2 separate regions of the Homo sapiens genome follow, and region 2 is linked to region 1. Evidence: promoter capture Hi-C in human tissues and cell types (Jung and others, 2019). All regions are on one chromosome and are shown on one strand. Each heading gives the region's core, a stretch centred on a gene start or on the middle of the fragment in contact. The rest is flanking DNA. Distances are from core to core; before and after follow the strand shown.

What was found. The method cuts DNA at HindIII sites, captures the fragments that hold promoters and counts their contacts. A contact is called where the count stands out against the background at its distance.
Region 2: a contact is called between a fragment that was not itself captured here and the fragment with the promoter of C1QL1 in region 1, in 1 of the 25 tissues and cell types used here (mesenchymal stem cells).

What each region holds. Positions count from the first base shown.
Region 1 is chr17:44,966,614-44,972,854 of GRCh38, reverse strand. It overlaps C1QL1 (complement C1q like 1), which reads left to right and starts at 4,552. Exons shown (of 2, transcript NM_006688.5): 1 at 4,552-5,403. The coding sequence starts at 4,807. It also overlaps the pseudogene LOC112268183. RefSeq lists silencers at 2,356-2,425, 4,262-4,621. The HindIII fragment of the contact is 17,092 bases long and covers 1-6,241 here.
Region 2 is chr17:45,005,421-45,011,865 of GRCh38, reverse strand. LOC107987243 (a long non-coding RNA gene) reads left to right here. Exons shown (of 6, transcript XR_007065771.1): 2 at 3,383-3,577. Among named protein-coding and RNA genes, the nearest start is that of C1QL1, 40 kb to the right of the region's middle. RefSeq lists enhancers at 3,231-3,731, 5,262-6,218. The HindIII fragment of the contact is 3,219 bases long and covers 1,942-5,160 here.

The sequences.
Region 1 (6,241 bases), core at 3,303-5,802:
CTGGCTAACATAGTGAAACCCTGTTTCCACTAAAAATACAAAAAACTTAGCCAGGCATAGTGGCAGGCACCTGTAGTCCCAGCTACTCCGGAGGCCGAGGCAGGAGAATGGCGTGAACCCAGGAGGCAGAGCTTGCGGTCAGCCGAGATCGCACCACGGCACTCCAGCCTGGGCGACAGAGAGAGAATCCATCTAAGAAAAAAAAAAAGAACAGGATCTTGCACTTTGTAAGTGCTCAAAAACTGTTAGCTATGGTAATTATTGTGGCAAAGTATCCTATCTTTCTGCACGTGTCCCCCACCAAACAGTGAACTCCTCAGGGGCACCGCTCAGCCTTCCGGTCCTACTCATCTTGGGACACACCATCACCACCTAGCTAGGTGTTTTCACCCAGGCAGGACCTAGCTAGCTGTTTTCAGTAAATGTAAAAACAACTCAATGCAGATCCAGCAGCTGATGAGTCAGGGCACAGCACCCCCCTTCCTCACTCCCAAACCCAGACACACAGCAACATCAACAGCCTCTTACACATTCACACCCACTCACATTCATTCAAAGAACCCCAAAATACCACAGAACAGTCACTCAGTTCCTAAAGTCAGTGCCAGTCATGCCTGGGTAAAAAGCCTTACCTACGCTCTTCCCTGTACCTTCCACAATCTACCTCAATGCCTGGAATGACTGGGGCTGTCGGCACCACCCCCTCACTGTAGGAGTTCCTATGGTAGGGTCATTCCAGATGGGGGCTGTGGGAGTGACCCCTCACACTCATAGAAGTTCGGGAAGCAAAGTTAGACCTTCAGCCCCCCACTGACAGCATCCCAGCTACAGAGAGTGCAGCCGCCCTCCTTACCTTGAAACCCTCCCTCCCTTTTCGCTTCTGAAAACCTGAGTCCTGGCCCCGGCTGGGCAAGCTGGCTCAAGCCTGTAATCCCAGCAGGAAGCCCAGGCAGGCAGATCACCTGAGCTCAGGAGTTTGAGACCAGCCTGGCCAACATGGTGAAACCATGTCTGTACTAAAAATACAAAAATTAGCTGGGCATGGTGGCACGTGCCTGTAATCTCAGCTCTTCGGGAGGCTGAGGCAGAAGAATGGCTGGAACCTGGGAGGCGGAGTTGGGGTGAGCCGAGATCGCACGGTTGCACTCCAGCCTGGGCAACAAGGGCGAAACTCAGTCTCAAAAAAAAAAAAAAGAAAGAAAGAAAAAAAAGAAAACCTGAGTCCTTGTTCTTAGCAGGTGGTTGAAGAAGAGGCCTGGAAGCCGGAACTTCAGGGTTCTTCCCTCACTCATCCAGTTCCATCTCTGAACCTGGGAGCCTAGGTCCATTGTCCCCCTCTCCTAGTGTCAAGGACAGCAATGGGTAGGAAGCTGGCAGGACCAAGTAGACCCAAGGCCCGGGGGTCTCCTGAGAGGGCTTTCTTGGCCTTGAGGTGAAATAGTTATATTAGCTACCATTTACGAGGTGTATAATAAGGGTCAGATACTGAGCCCAGGACTTTACATACGTAATACATCATTTAATCCTCACAACCACCCTTTTACCAAAGGATGCCAGGGGCTGCTGGGTAGGCTATTTACCTAAAATCACCGGGTAGGATTGGCACGCAAGCCGTTTTAGTTTTTGTTCTTAATGAGACAGGGTCTTGCTCTGTCGCCCAGGCTGGAGTGCAGTGGCGCAATCTCAGCTTATTGCAGCCTCGACCTCCCAGGCTCAAGCGATCCTCCCGCCTCAGCCTCCTGAGTAGCTGGGACTACAGGTAAAAGCCACAACGCCAGGATCTCCCTATGCTGCCCAGGCTTGTTCGGAACTCCTGAGCTCAAGCGATCCTCGGGCCTCAACCTCCCAGAGTGCTGGGATTACAGACGTGAGCCACCGCGCCCGGCTGGCACTCAGGTCTTTAATTTCAGAATCTTCAACAGTCCAGCTTTAAACAATGTTGGGGGGCAGTATGGCGGATGGGGGGGTTGTGACTGTCTTCAGGTGTTAAGCTGGGAGATGCCCCTCAAGGCAGCACTCTCTCCCCAATCAGCCAAGCCCTCATCTCCCGGAAAGAGGGGCGCTGAGAGCAGGGGATGGGGGTGGAGGGTCGGGTAGGTGGTTAAGGGGTGCTTCTTTGGGGGCCTGGGCGGAGCCAGGGCGGGGCTTGGCGAGCCCAGGGGAGGCGCCAAGCCGGTGGCCCCAGCTCACAGGCCAAGATGGCTGTTAATTAAAGTGCTGGCACCAGCTCCTCTCTGCAAAGTTTGAAGCCGTTATTTTCCACTCCAGCGAAGCGGGGAGAATCCGGCTGGGCTGACGGAGACGCCACACCGCGCCAGGGGAGCAGGAGCTTTTTCGGAGCGGGAGGCGGGGCGCCGTGTGGCTGCGAGCGCGCCTCTTGGATGCCCCGGCCGGCGCGGGGGTGGGTGGGCGCTCCCGCCCCATCCTTGGCCCCGGGCGGCCAGCCGCGGTGTGCCCGGAGGGCTCTGCGAGGGCTGTGGGTGGCGGGCGAGCCCCAGCGGCGTAGCAGAGGAGGGGCCCCCGAGCGAGCGTACTAGGGAGAAGGGGGTCCGTGCAAATCCCAGGCTGACGACCGCGCACGCGCCCCTCGGGTCACCAGCCCTGTCGCTCTTGGTGGGGCACACCGAGGAGACCGCCGTGGGGAACCGGGGACCGGATTGCCTGACAGCCGAGCGCTGAAGACTACTCTTCCTGAGCCTAGGGAGGTCTGGCTGCCCTGAGCCCCCTACCCCTGGGCTTTGGGCAGTAAACGGTACCTAGAGACTCTATCGCGCTGAGGTTGGAAGAGCCTGGAGCCAGGCTACGAGTTTGAGTCCCGGCTCTCCCACTTATTAGTTGTGTGACTTTAAGCAAATCTCTTAACTTCCCAGAGCCTCAGTTCTCCATCTGTAAAATTAAAATAATCTTGGATTTTACTTCTTTGGACTGATGTGAAGATCAAGGGTGATCATGTATGTAAAACATTCAACACAGGGCCTAGCACAGAGTAAACCCTGAATAAATGCTACTTATTGAAAATTTTTTAGCTCCCTCCTTGGTGGTGGTGGGGTCACTCCAACCTGGCCTCAGCCATTAGTGCTTGGAGGGTCCTCTTTCACAGCCCCCTCGTTGGATGTCCCTGTGTCCTTCTACTCCCAGCCCTGGATGAGGTGAGCGACCTCAACCTTGGGTAGGGAAGGCCAGGGAATCATTTTGCCCATGGTGAAGGGTCAACAGGGAGAGTGTGAGCCGGCGGGGGGTAGCTCTCGGGAGAGGAGAGGCTGGGATGTCATTCTTTAGCAGCCGGCCAGTCGCCTCCGAATGGCTGAATCCTCCCCGGTGGGCCGGATAAAGGAGGGCGAAGGAGGAGCGGTGGAGCAGCCCGACCTGGGCCTCAGATAATGTGACAAATATTTTGATGGAAGCAGACACGTTTCGGTTTATGCAACCTAAACACTTTGCTGCACTTGAGGAAGAGGAGAGCCTCCCACAGCCTGATGGGGAGAAGAGTTAGGGGGCGGCGGAGGAGGCTGGGGAGTGAGGGAGGAGGAGCTGAGGGGCTGGATGAGATCCACCCCTCATCCTGGAGGCTGGAAAAGGGGGTTACCCCTCAGGGACGTATTTGCATCTGTCAGCATGGAGAAATAACGTGGGGGTGCCCACCTTTTTAGGATCCCCTTTTCTCCCTGGTCTAGAGGCAGAAGTAAAGGGATTGAGCAGAGGGAGATGGAAGAAAAGGGCCCAGGAAAAAGCAGCCTGGCCACAGTTCGGTGAGGAAGGGGCAGAGGCGAGGAGGGGTTGGAAGCTCCTGCCCCACCTCGGGGGAGACGGGTCCCGGAACAGTCAGATCCAGAAAGGAGGAGGCGGCTGCCGTCTGGCTCCGCTGGGCCCCCGGACAGGCATTCATCCGATATCTGGATCTCCCAGACGGGTGGTCTGCGAGGCCTGAGTGCCAAATGGTCCCCTCCGTATCCTCTTCTTCGCTTCATAACCCCCTTTCTCATCCTACCTTCCAGCTCCCCGCTCCGTCCTCCCCTCAATCGCTCTTTGTCCCCTGCAGACCTGGGCGCTATCCCCTCGCTTCCGCCCCCTGCGGGTCTTGGCCCGTCGCGACCCCAGTCCCTCTGTTTTCCTGGTGACCGACCCTCGAAGCCTCTCCTCTCCCGATCCCCTCGGAGCTCTCTAGCTCTCCCTGTGGCCCTCTCTCCCTTTCGCATTTTGGTCCCTACTCTCCCCTTCCCTTGGAGCGCCTCTCGGGTCTCTCGGACCCCGGCCCCCACCCCATTTCCGAATCTCGGTCTCCGCGTACTCAGTCTCTTCTTTCCTCTCCCTGCTCCCGCCCGGGGTCTCCGCGGCCCCGCCCCCTTATGCCCCGCCCACCTCGAGGCGCCCGCGGCCCAATTAGGCGCCGGCCCCGCCCGCAGCCCCACCCCTAGAGAGCCCAGAGCCGCGCGGAGCTGGCGGGGCGGGGCCCGGCCGAGGGGGCGGTGGCCCGGCTCAAGGAGGCGGGAGGAGTCAGGCGGGAGGCTGCAGGCGGGAGGCGGGAGGCGGGAGGCGGCGGCCGCGGCGCTCAGTCCGGCAGCGCAGCAGGAGGGAGGCGCGAGGCAGGAGCCGGCGGCTGGGCTCCGCAGCGCAGCCAGCGCAGCGCGGCGCCCCGGGCCCGGCCCCATGCCCGCAGCCCCGCCGGACCGTCCTTGAGCGCGGGCGCCTAGCCCGCGCCCCCTGCCCGCCGGCACCATTGCCCCGACGGCGCGGCCGGGCGGCCCGGCGCTCCCCAGGCTCCGCGCGGGCCGAAAGACGCTGCTAGCGGCCGCCGCGGGTGTGGTGATGCTGCTGGTGCTGGTGGTGCTCATCCCCGTGCTGGTGAGCTCGGGCGGCCCGGAAGGCCACTATGAGATGCTGGGCACCTGCCGCATGGTGTGCGACCCCTACCCCGCGCGGGGCCCCGGCGCCGGCGCGCGGACCGACGGCGGCGACGCCCTGAGCGAGCAGAGCGGCGCGCCCCCGCCTTCCACGCTGGTGCAGGGCCCCCAGGGGAAGCCGGGCCGCACCGGCAAGCCCGGCCCTCCGGGGCCTCCCGGGGACCCAGGTCCTCCCGGCCCTGTGGGGCCGCCGGGGGAGAAGGGTGAGCCAGGCAAGCCGGGCCCTCCGGGGCTGCCGGGCGCGGGGGGCAGCGGCGCCATCAGCACTGCCACCTACACCACGGTGCCGCGCGTGGCCTTCTACGCCGGCCTCAAGAACCCCCACGAGGGTTACGAGGTACTCAAGTTTGACGACGTGGTCACCAACCTAGGCAACAACTACGACGCGGCCAGCGGCAAGTTTACGTGCAACATTCCCGGCACCTACTTTTTCACCTACCATGTCCTCATGCGCGGCGGCGACGGCACCAGTATGTGGGCAGACCTCTGCAAGAATGGCCAGGTGGGCCAGGCGGGGGCATGGGGCTGGGCTGGGCCCAGGGCACCCAGGGAGCCCGGGGCAAATGGGTACCTGATCGGAGTTGGCGGGGGCGCCAGGCGGACGCAGGTGGAGATCCCACCCCACAGCGGCCCCGCTTGGTCATCACGTGTGGGGATGGTCGGAGCCAGCGGACATCGCCGATCCTCAGTTCCTGGGTTCCCGCTCCAAGACAGACGCTGCTGGGCACCGTCTGGAACGCTACTGGAAATGCGGGAAATGAACCCAACTAGTCAGAGCGCAGGGCTCCCAGGTGCACGGACTTGCCCTTGGGGGCTTGCCCCTTGGGAAGTGGATTCGGGCCGACAGCAGTGGGCGATAAGGGGAGGGCAAGGATGGGCTCTGGCGTATGGAACAGGGAGAAGCAGCATCCGCGCCCGCGGGCGCCTAGGCGCGTGGCCATGGGCGCGAGCGGAGAAGGCTGGCTGCAGGAAATGTTTGGGGCACAAAGGCAAAGGGAGCCCGGTGCTTACAGCCCTGGCTGCAGTGCCTCCCCTGCCCTGGAGAAGGGACCATTGGGCGAATCTGACACCCTTTGCAAAATCCGGGAGTTGGGGAGCTGTTTCCCACTGTAGCAGAGCTTCCCCAAAAAGAAGGCAGTCTGGGGGGCGGGGGAGTTTTTCCTCCTGAGGCGGGGAGGGGGTGGGGGGTGGGGGGTGGTGGAAGAGATGGAAACTCCCCCTCCTCTTGGTCTCCCAGCTCCAGCCCCTCCTGACTCTGGAGTGTGTGGGGTCCTCTCCATTCTCCGTCCCCATCTCAGACGCTGCAGCTGGAAAGCACTGAGTGTGTCGGGGACTCTGGT
Region 2 (6,445 bases), core at 2,302-4,801, 40 kb before region 1:
ACCTTGGACTCCTGGCCTCAAGTAATTCTCCCACCTCTGCCTCCCAAAGTGTTGTGATGACAGGTGTGAGCCACTGCACTTGGCCTTTCTTTTTTTTTGAAACGGAGTTTTGCTCTTGTTGCCCAGGCTAGAGTGCAATGGCACAATCTCGGCTCACTGCAACCTCCCCCCTCCCAGGTTCAAGCGATCCTCCTGCCTCAGCCTCCTGAGTAGCTGGGATTACAGGCATGCACCACCATGCTTGCCTACTTTTGTATTTTTTAGTAGAGACAGGGTTTCTCCATGTTGGTCAGGCTGGTCTCGAACTCCCAACCTCAAGTGATCCGCCCGCCTTGGCCTCCCAAAATGCTGGGATTACAGGCATGAGCCACCGCGCCCGGCCTTTCTTTCTTTCTTCTTCTTCTTCTTCTTTTTTTTTTTTTTTTTTTTTGAGATAGAGTCTTACTCTGTTGCCCAGGCCAGAGTGCAGTGGCATAATCTTGGCTCACCACAACCTCCACCTCCCAGGTTCAAGCGATTCTCCTGCCTCGGCCTCCCGGGTAGCTGGGACTACAGGCATGTGCCACCATGCCCAGCTAATTTTTGTATTTTTAGTAGAGACAGGGTTTCGCTATGTTGGCCAGGCTGGTCTTGAACTCCTGACCTCGTGATCTGCCTGCCTCAGCCTCCCAAAGTGCTGGGATGACAGGTGTGAGTCACCACACCTGCCATTTCTTTCTTCTTGTTTCAGGTTTCTTCCTTCTTGGTTCCATCCTACAAAGAACTGTTTCCATAGACATCCTCTCTGTACAGCTACTTTCAGCCTATTCTTCCCAGTTAGAGACTTACAGTGATTCCTAGTGTCTACCAAATTCCCTTTCAAACTCCTTGGTTTGGGATTCCAAGAGCCCTTCACCATCAAGCTCTTTCCACCTGACACAAACAGTAACCTTGTTTCCGGCCCAACTTGCTGTGCCAACTGGCCCTGCCTAAGGCTGTCCAGCCTCTCTGCCTTTGCCTGGGCCGCTTCTCCTCCTGCAACATCCTTCTTCCTCTCCACACCCAATTCTGCTGATTGAAATCCATCCATTCTGAAAGACCTGGCTCAAATGCCACCTCTTCTGGGAGGAATCCTTACCAGGTAGCCTCATCAGAAATGCTTGCCCTCCTCTGATCCATCTCCCGTAGCCCCTTGCATGTCCCAGGCCCTGGATCTTTCTCTCTCACAGCCTCAGACTCCCGGTAAGCCTCTGGAAATGGAAGCCCCTGGAGGGCAGAGCTATCCCAGCTGTCCATGAGTCCTCTCGGAACCCATTTCCCACCATTGCACTTCCTGCCCTGCTCGCTCCCCACCCCAAGGTAACACCAAGGTCGGATGTGAGAAAAAAATAGATGAAACAAGATTTTGCACATCACATTGTAAAACCCGCTCAGGCGCTCCCCTCCTCCCAATATTCTTACTGGACTCCCGCCTACCCTTGGCTCTGGTCCCTCTGGCTCCTCCCCATCCACCCAGTCCAGATGTCCAAGCCTGAGCAGCTCACCTGGAGAGACACCGTGTCTCTGTCTCCATCTCTTAGTCTGGGTCTCTGTCTGTGCTGCCAGTAGACCTCTGGCCTCCCCCATCAGACTGGGATCACTGGGAATGTGAGGACCTACCTTTTTTTGTCTTTGTCTCCTTTTCCCATCCCATTCAGTGGAGGATTTCAAAAAGCTTTGGAGACACACTTAACAAGATAAAAAATGAGAGAGGAAGCTGGAGGTGGGAGAGGTCCTGCTTCCTCCTCCCCCAGCCTCGGTCTCTGGCACCTTGCCAAGGTCACCTTTCAGAGCAACCTATCACGGGCCTTTGTCAGGATCATTCATCCTCCTTTCCAGCGCCCTCCGCCCTTGCCAACCCACCAGACTCTGTTGCCACTCCAGGCCCTGCCGCCACTCCAGGCCCTGCCAGCCCCAGCTCGCCTTACCAGTCCCTCACGCTCCAACTCTCTCCCTCTCCCCCCCATCTGCAACCACAGCACATCACAGCTGTCTGATTAGCTCAATTGATTAATTAAGCTCTAATGAGAGCCGTGACTCACCCCTACAGCTGCTGACCAGGAGGCCAGCCGTGCCCAGAAGGCCACTGAGGCTGCAGACATGGTCTTATGAGGGCCCAGGGGCAGGCAGCTCAGTGGTTGGTACCACTGAGCCATTTGCAGGGCACAAAGCTTGCCCATGGCTAGGTCTCTCCAAAAGCCTCCATGGTGAGGGGTGGGCAGAGGGGTTGCTCCCTCAACCAATCAGTGAGTTCCAGGATCTGGCACCAACTCTGCTGAAGTCAGGGAGGGCAGAGCAGACATTGATTGGCTGAGAGGTGCAGGGAGGGGAGTAGATCCCTTCAGAGTCCCACCTTGACTCCTGGGGCTTAGCATGCCCCAGGCCCAGAGGATAGTGAGCGTGGGGAAGCTGGGCACTGGCCAGAGGAACCAGACTTAGCCCTGCCAGCAGCCACCAACCCTGTGGTTTCTTTGCTCTGTCGCCCAGGCTGGAGTGCAATGCTGCGATCTTGGCTTACTGCAACCTCCATCTCCCAGGTTCAGTCGATCCTCCTGCCTCAGCCTCCCGAGTAGCTGGGATTACAGGCACGCGCCACCATGCCCAGCTGGTTTTTATTTTTAGTAGAGATGGGGTTTCACCATGTTGGCCAGGCTGGTCTCGAACTCATGACCTCAGGTGATCCACCTGCCTCAGCCTCCCAAAGTGCTAGGATTACAGGTGTGAACCACCGCACCCGGCCAAACCCTATGGTTTCTTCCATCCCCACAACTCCCAGCCATGTGGTGAGAAAACGCCCCCATCCAGCTGCTGGCTTCCAGTCTCGAATAGCCACAAGGACTCTGCAGAGCAAGTCCTCGATTCCCATTCCTCCCACCTCCGGCCTCCCTCACCACCCCGACCACTGACCCACCCCGCCCCCAGACTCTGTCCCTTGTCTAGGATAGGGGACAAATGCCCTCCATTAGCAACAATCATTGGCTGGGCACAATGGGTCACTCCTGTAATTCCAGCACTTAATCACGCCTTAATCCTCAACCTTGGGAGGCTGAGGTGGGAGGATCACTTGAGGCCAGTAGTTTGAGACCAGCCCAGGCAACATAGCAAGACCCCTGTCTCTACACAAAATTTTAAGAAAGAAAATTAGCCAGGTAAGGTTGCTCACGTTTGTAATCCCAGCTACTGGGGAAGCTGAGGCAGGAGGATTGCTTGAGCCCAGGAGTTCGAGGCTGCAGTGAGCTGTGATTACACCACTGCACTCCAGCCTTGACAAGGGTAGAATCTTGTCTCAAAAAAAACAAAAAACGATCATCAGTTAAGTGGGATTTTCCATCTTACAGACACCTCCATGTTCGTTCTTCCCCAGAATCTCACGAGGCAAACTGAGCCAGGAGTTCATTCTAGAGATGAGGAAACTGAGACCTCAACTTGCCCAAGATCACACCCGGGCGTTTCCTGCTTCCCAGCCTTTGCATTTGTCTTGAGTCACGCACTTCTCTTCAGCTTTGAGACGTCAGCTTAGAGGTCACTTCAGCCAGGATGCCCCGTCCCCCAGCTGCAGGTGAGGGCCCCCTCTTGTTGTGTTAACTTGCTCACCTCTGCCACGGGCCTGTGAGCACAGCTGCCGCTCTGTCTATACCTCCCGATTGCGGGAGGATCCTGCTCAGGGCCTCACAGGCAGTAGGGACATAAAGAATATTTAGAGTGGAGGAAAGAAAGGGAGGAGGGAAGAAATGAATGAGCCACACATGGCAGATAGTCTGAGCCCCCAGTCAAATGCTGAGAGGGAGGACATGGTGGAGGACCAAGCAGGGCTGCCCAGTCTGGTCATGTCAGCTGTTGATGTGCAGGGAGCCCCTGCTGCACAGCCCGCTGGCCCAGAGATCATGCAGGTAGTCACTTCCCCTCCCTGCTGCAGAGAGGTTAGGGTGGGACCAGGAAATCCTGGGAGATGGTGGAGGAAGATGGGCAGAGCAGGAGAGAGTGGGGAGGGCCTGGGAGTCAGGAAACCTGAAGTGGAGATTAAAGCAGTGGCTGGGTCAGGCACAGTGGCTCACATCTGTGATCCCAGCACTTTGGGAGGCTGAGGCAGGTGGATCACCTGAGATCAGGAGTTTGAGACAAGCCTGGTCAACATGGTGGAAACCCGTCTCTACTAAAAATACAAAAATTAGCTGGGTGTGGTGGCATGCGCCTGTAATTCCAACTACTTGGGAGGCTGAGGCAGGAGAATCACTTGAACCCGGGAAGCAGAGGTTGCAGTGAGCTGAGATCGTGCCACTGCACTCCAGCCTGGGCGACAGAGCAAAATTCTGTCAAAAAAAAAAACAAAAAAAACAGTGGCTGGAGAGTCCGAGACCTGGGTTGGAGTCCTGGCTTTGCTTGACCTCTCTGGGTGACTGTGGGCATGTGGCCTCCCCAGTCTGGCCTGTGAACCGAGAAAGTCTGATGGCATGGGCTCTGGGCCTGTTCTCCTGTTGAAGTCTGGGAGTTCTGTAGCCCCAAGAGACATCTGTTACTAGAGGGAGGGAGTGAAATGGAGATGGACAGTAGGAGGGGGTTGCAACACCTATTACCAATGGTGGGAGGGGTAATCACAGCCGGGAGCCTCTGGGCCCCACAAGGAGTCTCCACCACTCCCCCCAGCTCCTCTTCTGTCGCTGCCCCTCAGATTCAATTACCAGCTCAGCTTTCAAATCGGGCTCCAGCCAGTAACTTTACTGGAGAAAATTATTATGTGATTATTTCAACCTTGCTCCAAACGCTGTTTTAATTGGATCTGGGAAAAGGCGATTTGGGCATCAGAGGAGCCACGCGGGGGCGGGAGCAGCATAGGAATGTCAGGCAGGGGAGCCCCACCTGCCCATGAGGTTCGAAAGGCAGACAGGACTGCTTCCCAGCCCCCTACCTCTCCCCAGGCCCCCCACGTTCATCGTAGATGGAGGGTAAGCCTCAGCCGGAAAGAGAAAATGGGTGTGGGGAGAAAGGCTTCCCAGGCAAGTGGGTTGTGGAGGGGGTTGGAGGGGGTTGGAGGGGGTTGGAGGGGGTTGGAGGGGGTTGGGGGGGTTTGGAGGGGGTTGGAGGGGGTTGGGGGGGTTGGAGGGGGTTGGAGGGGGTTGGAGGGGTTGGAGGGGGTTGGAGGGGGTTGGAGGGGGTTGGAGGGGTTGGAGGGGGTTGGAGGGGGTTGGAGGGGGTTGGAGGGAACAGGTTCCTAGCAGCCTGTCTCCTGCCCAAAGCAGCCATCAGCCACTTAGAAAACTACTTTCCTGCCAATTTCCTTCCCTCCTCTGCCCCCAGTCCCAGCCCACCTGGAATAGACTTTTGCTCAAACACTAGCCCAAGGAAGCAGAGTTGGAAAGAACATTTGATTTTCCAGGATCCAGGAGGGCCTTTGAAAGGGATTTGGATTTATCTGCTCCTGGGATCACCCTTTCTCCCTGCTAGACAGATGACTGGTGTTTGAACATATGCTAACCTTTCTGAGCTTTGGTTTTCCCATCTGTCAAAGAGAGGGTCCTAGGTGACCCCCAAGACCCCTCCCAGGAACGAAGGAAGCCATTTGCACTGGTTCTCCCTGTGCTCTGGCTCTCCATGAGGCTAGAGAAGTCCAGCACCAACTCTTTGGTGGCCAATTCTGCAGGGGCTTGTAGGCGCTGAGCCTTGTAGAGCCCATCTGCCTCGCAGCTAAGGATGTCCCTCCCCACCCCGAGCCAGAGCTCAGCCAGGTGCCAGGAGCGAGAGTGGGCCTGGGATTGGGGCAGGAGGAGAGGGGAGGGGTGTGCTGAAAGGTTGAGGGGCCAGGAGGAAGGACGCATCTTCATGGTCTTGAGGTCTGGCTTTCTCAGGGCTCTCTGTAACTCCTTTTCTCCACACCTTAACAAACACCATGTCAACACTTCTTTAAAAATTGTTTATTTTGTTTAGAAATGAGGTCTTGCTCTGTTACCCAGGCTCGGGTGCATTGGCTCCATCATAGTTCACTGCAGCCTCTACCTCCTGGGTTCAAGCAATTCTCCTGCCTCAGCCTCCTGAGAAGCTGAAACTACAGGTGCACACCACCATGCCTGGCTAATATTTTAAATTTTTTGTAGAAATGGGGTCTTACTATGTTGCCTAGGCTAGTCTTGACCTCCTGAGCTCAAGTGATCCTCCCACCTTAGCCTTCCAAAATGCTGGGATTACAAGTATAAGCCACAGTGCCCAGCCAATGCTTTTTAAATATTTTTTATTTTTTTAGAGATAGGGTCTTGCTCTGTCACCCAGGCTGGAGTGCAGTAGCCCAGTCATTGCTCACTGTAACTTCAAACTCCTGGGCGTAAGTGATCCTCCTGCCTCACTCAACACTTTTTAAAAAAAATCGCTTAGGTGGCTCATGCCTGTAATCTCAGCACTTTGGGAGGCTGAGGCTGATGGATCACTTGTTCCCAGG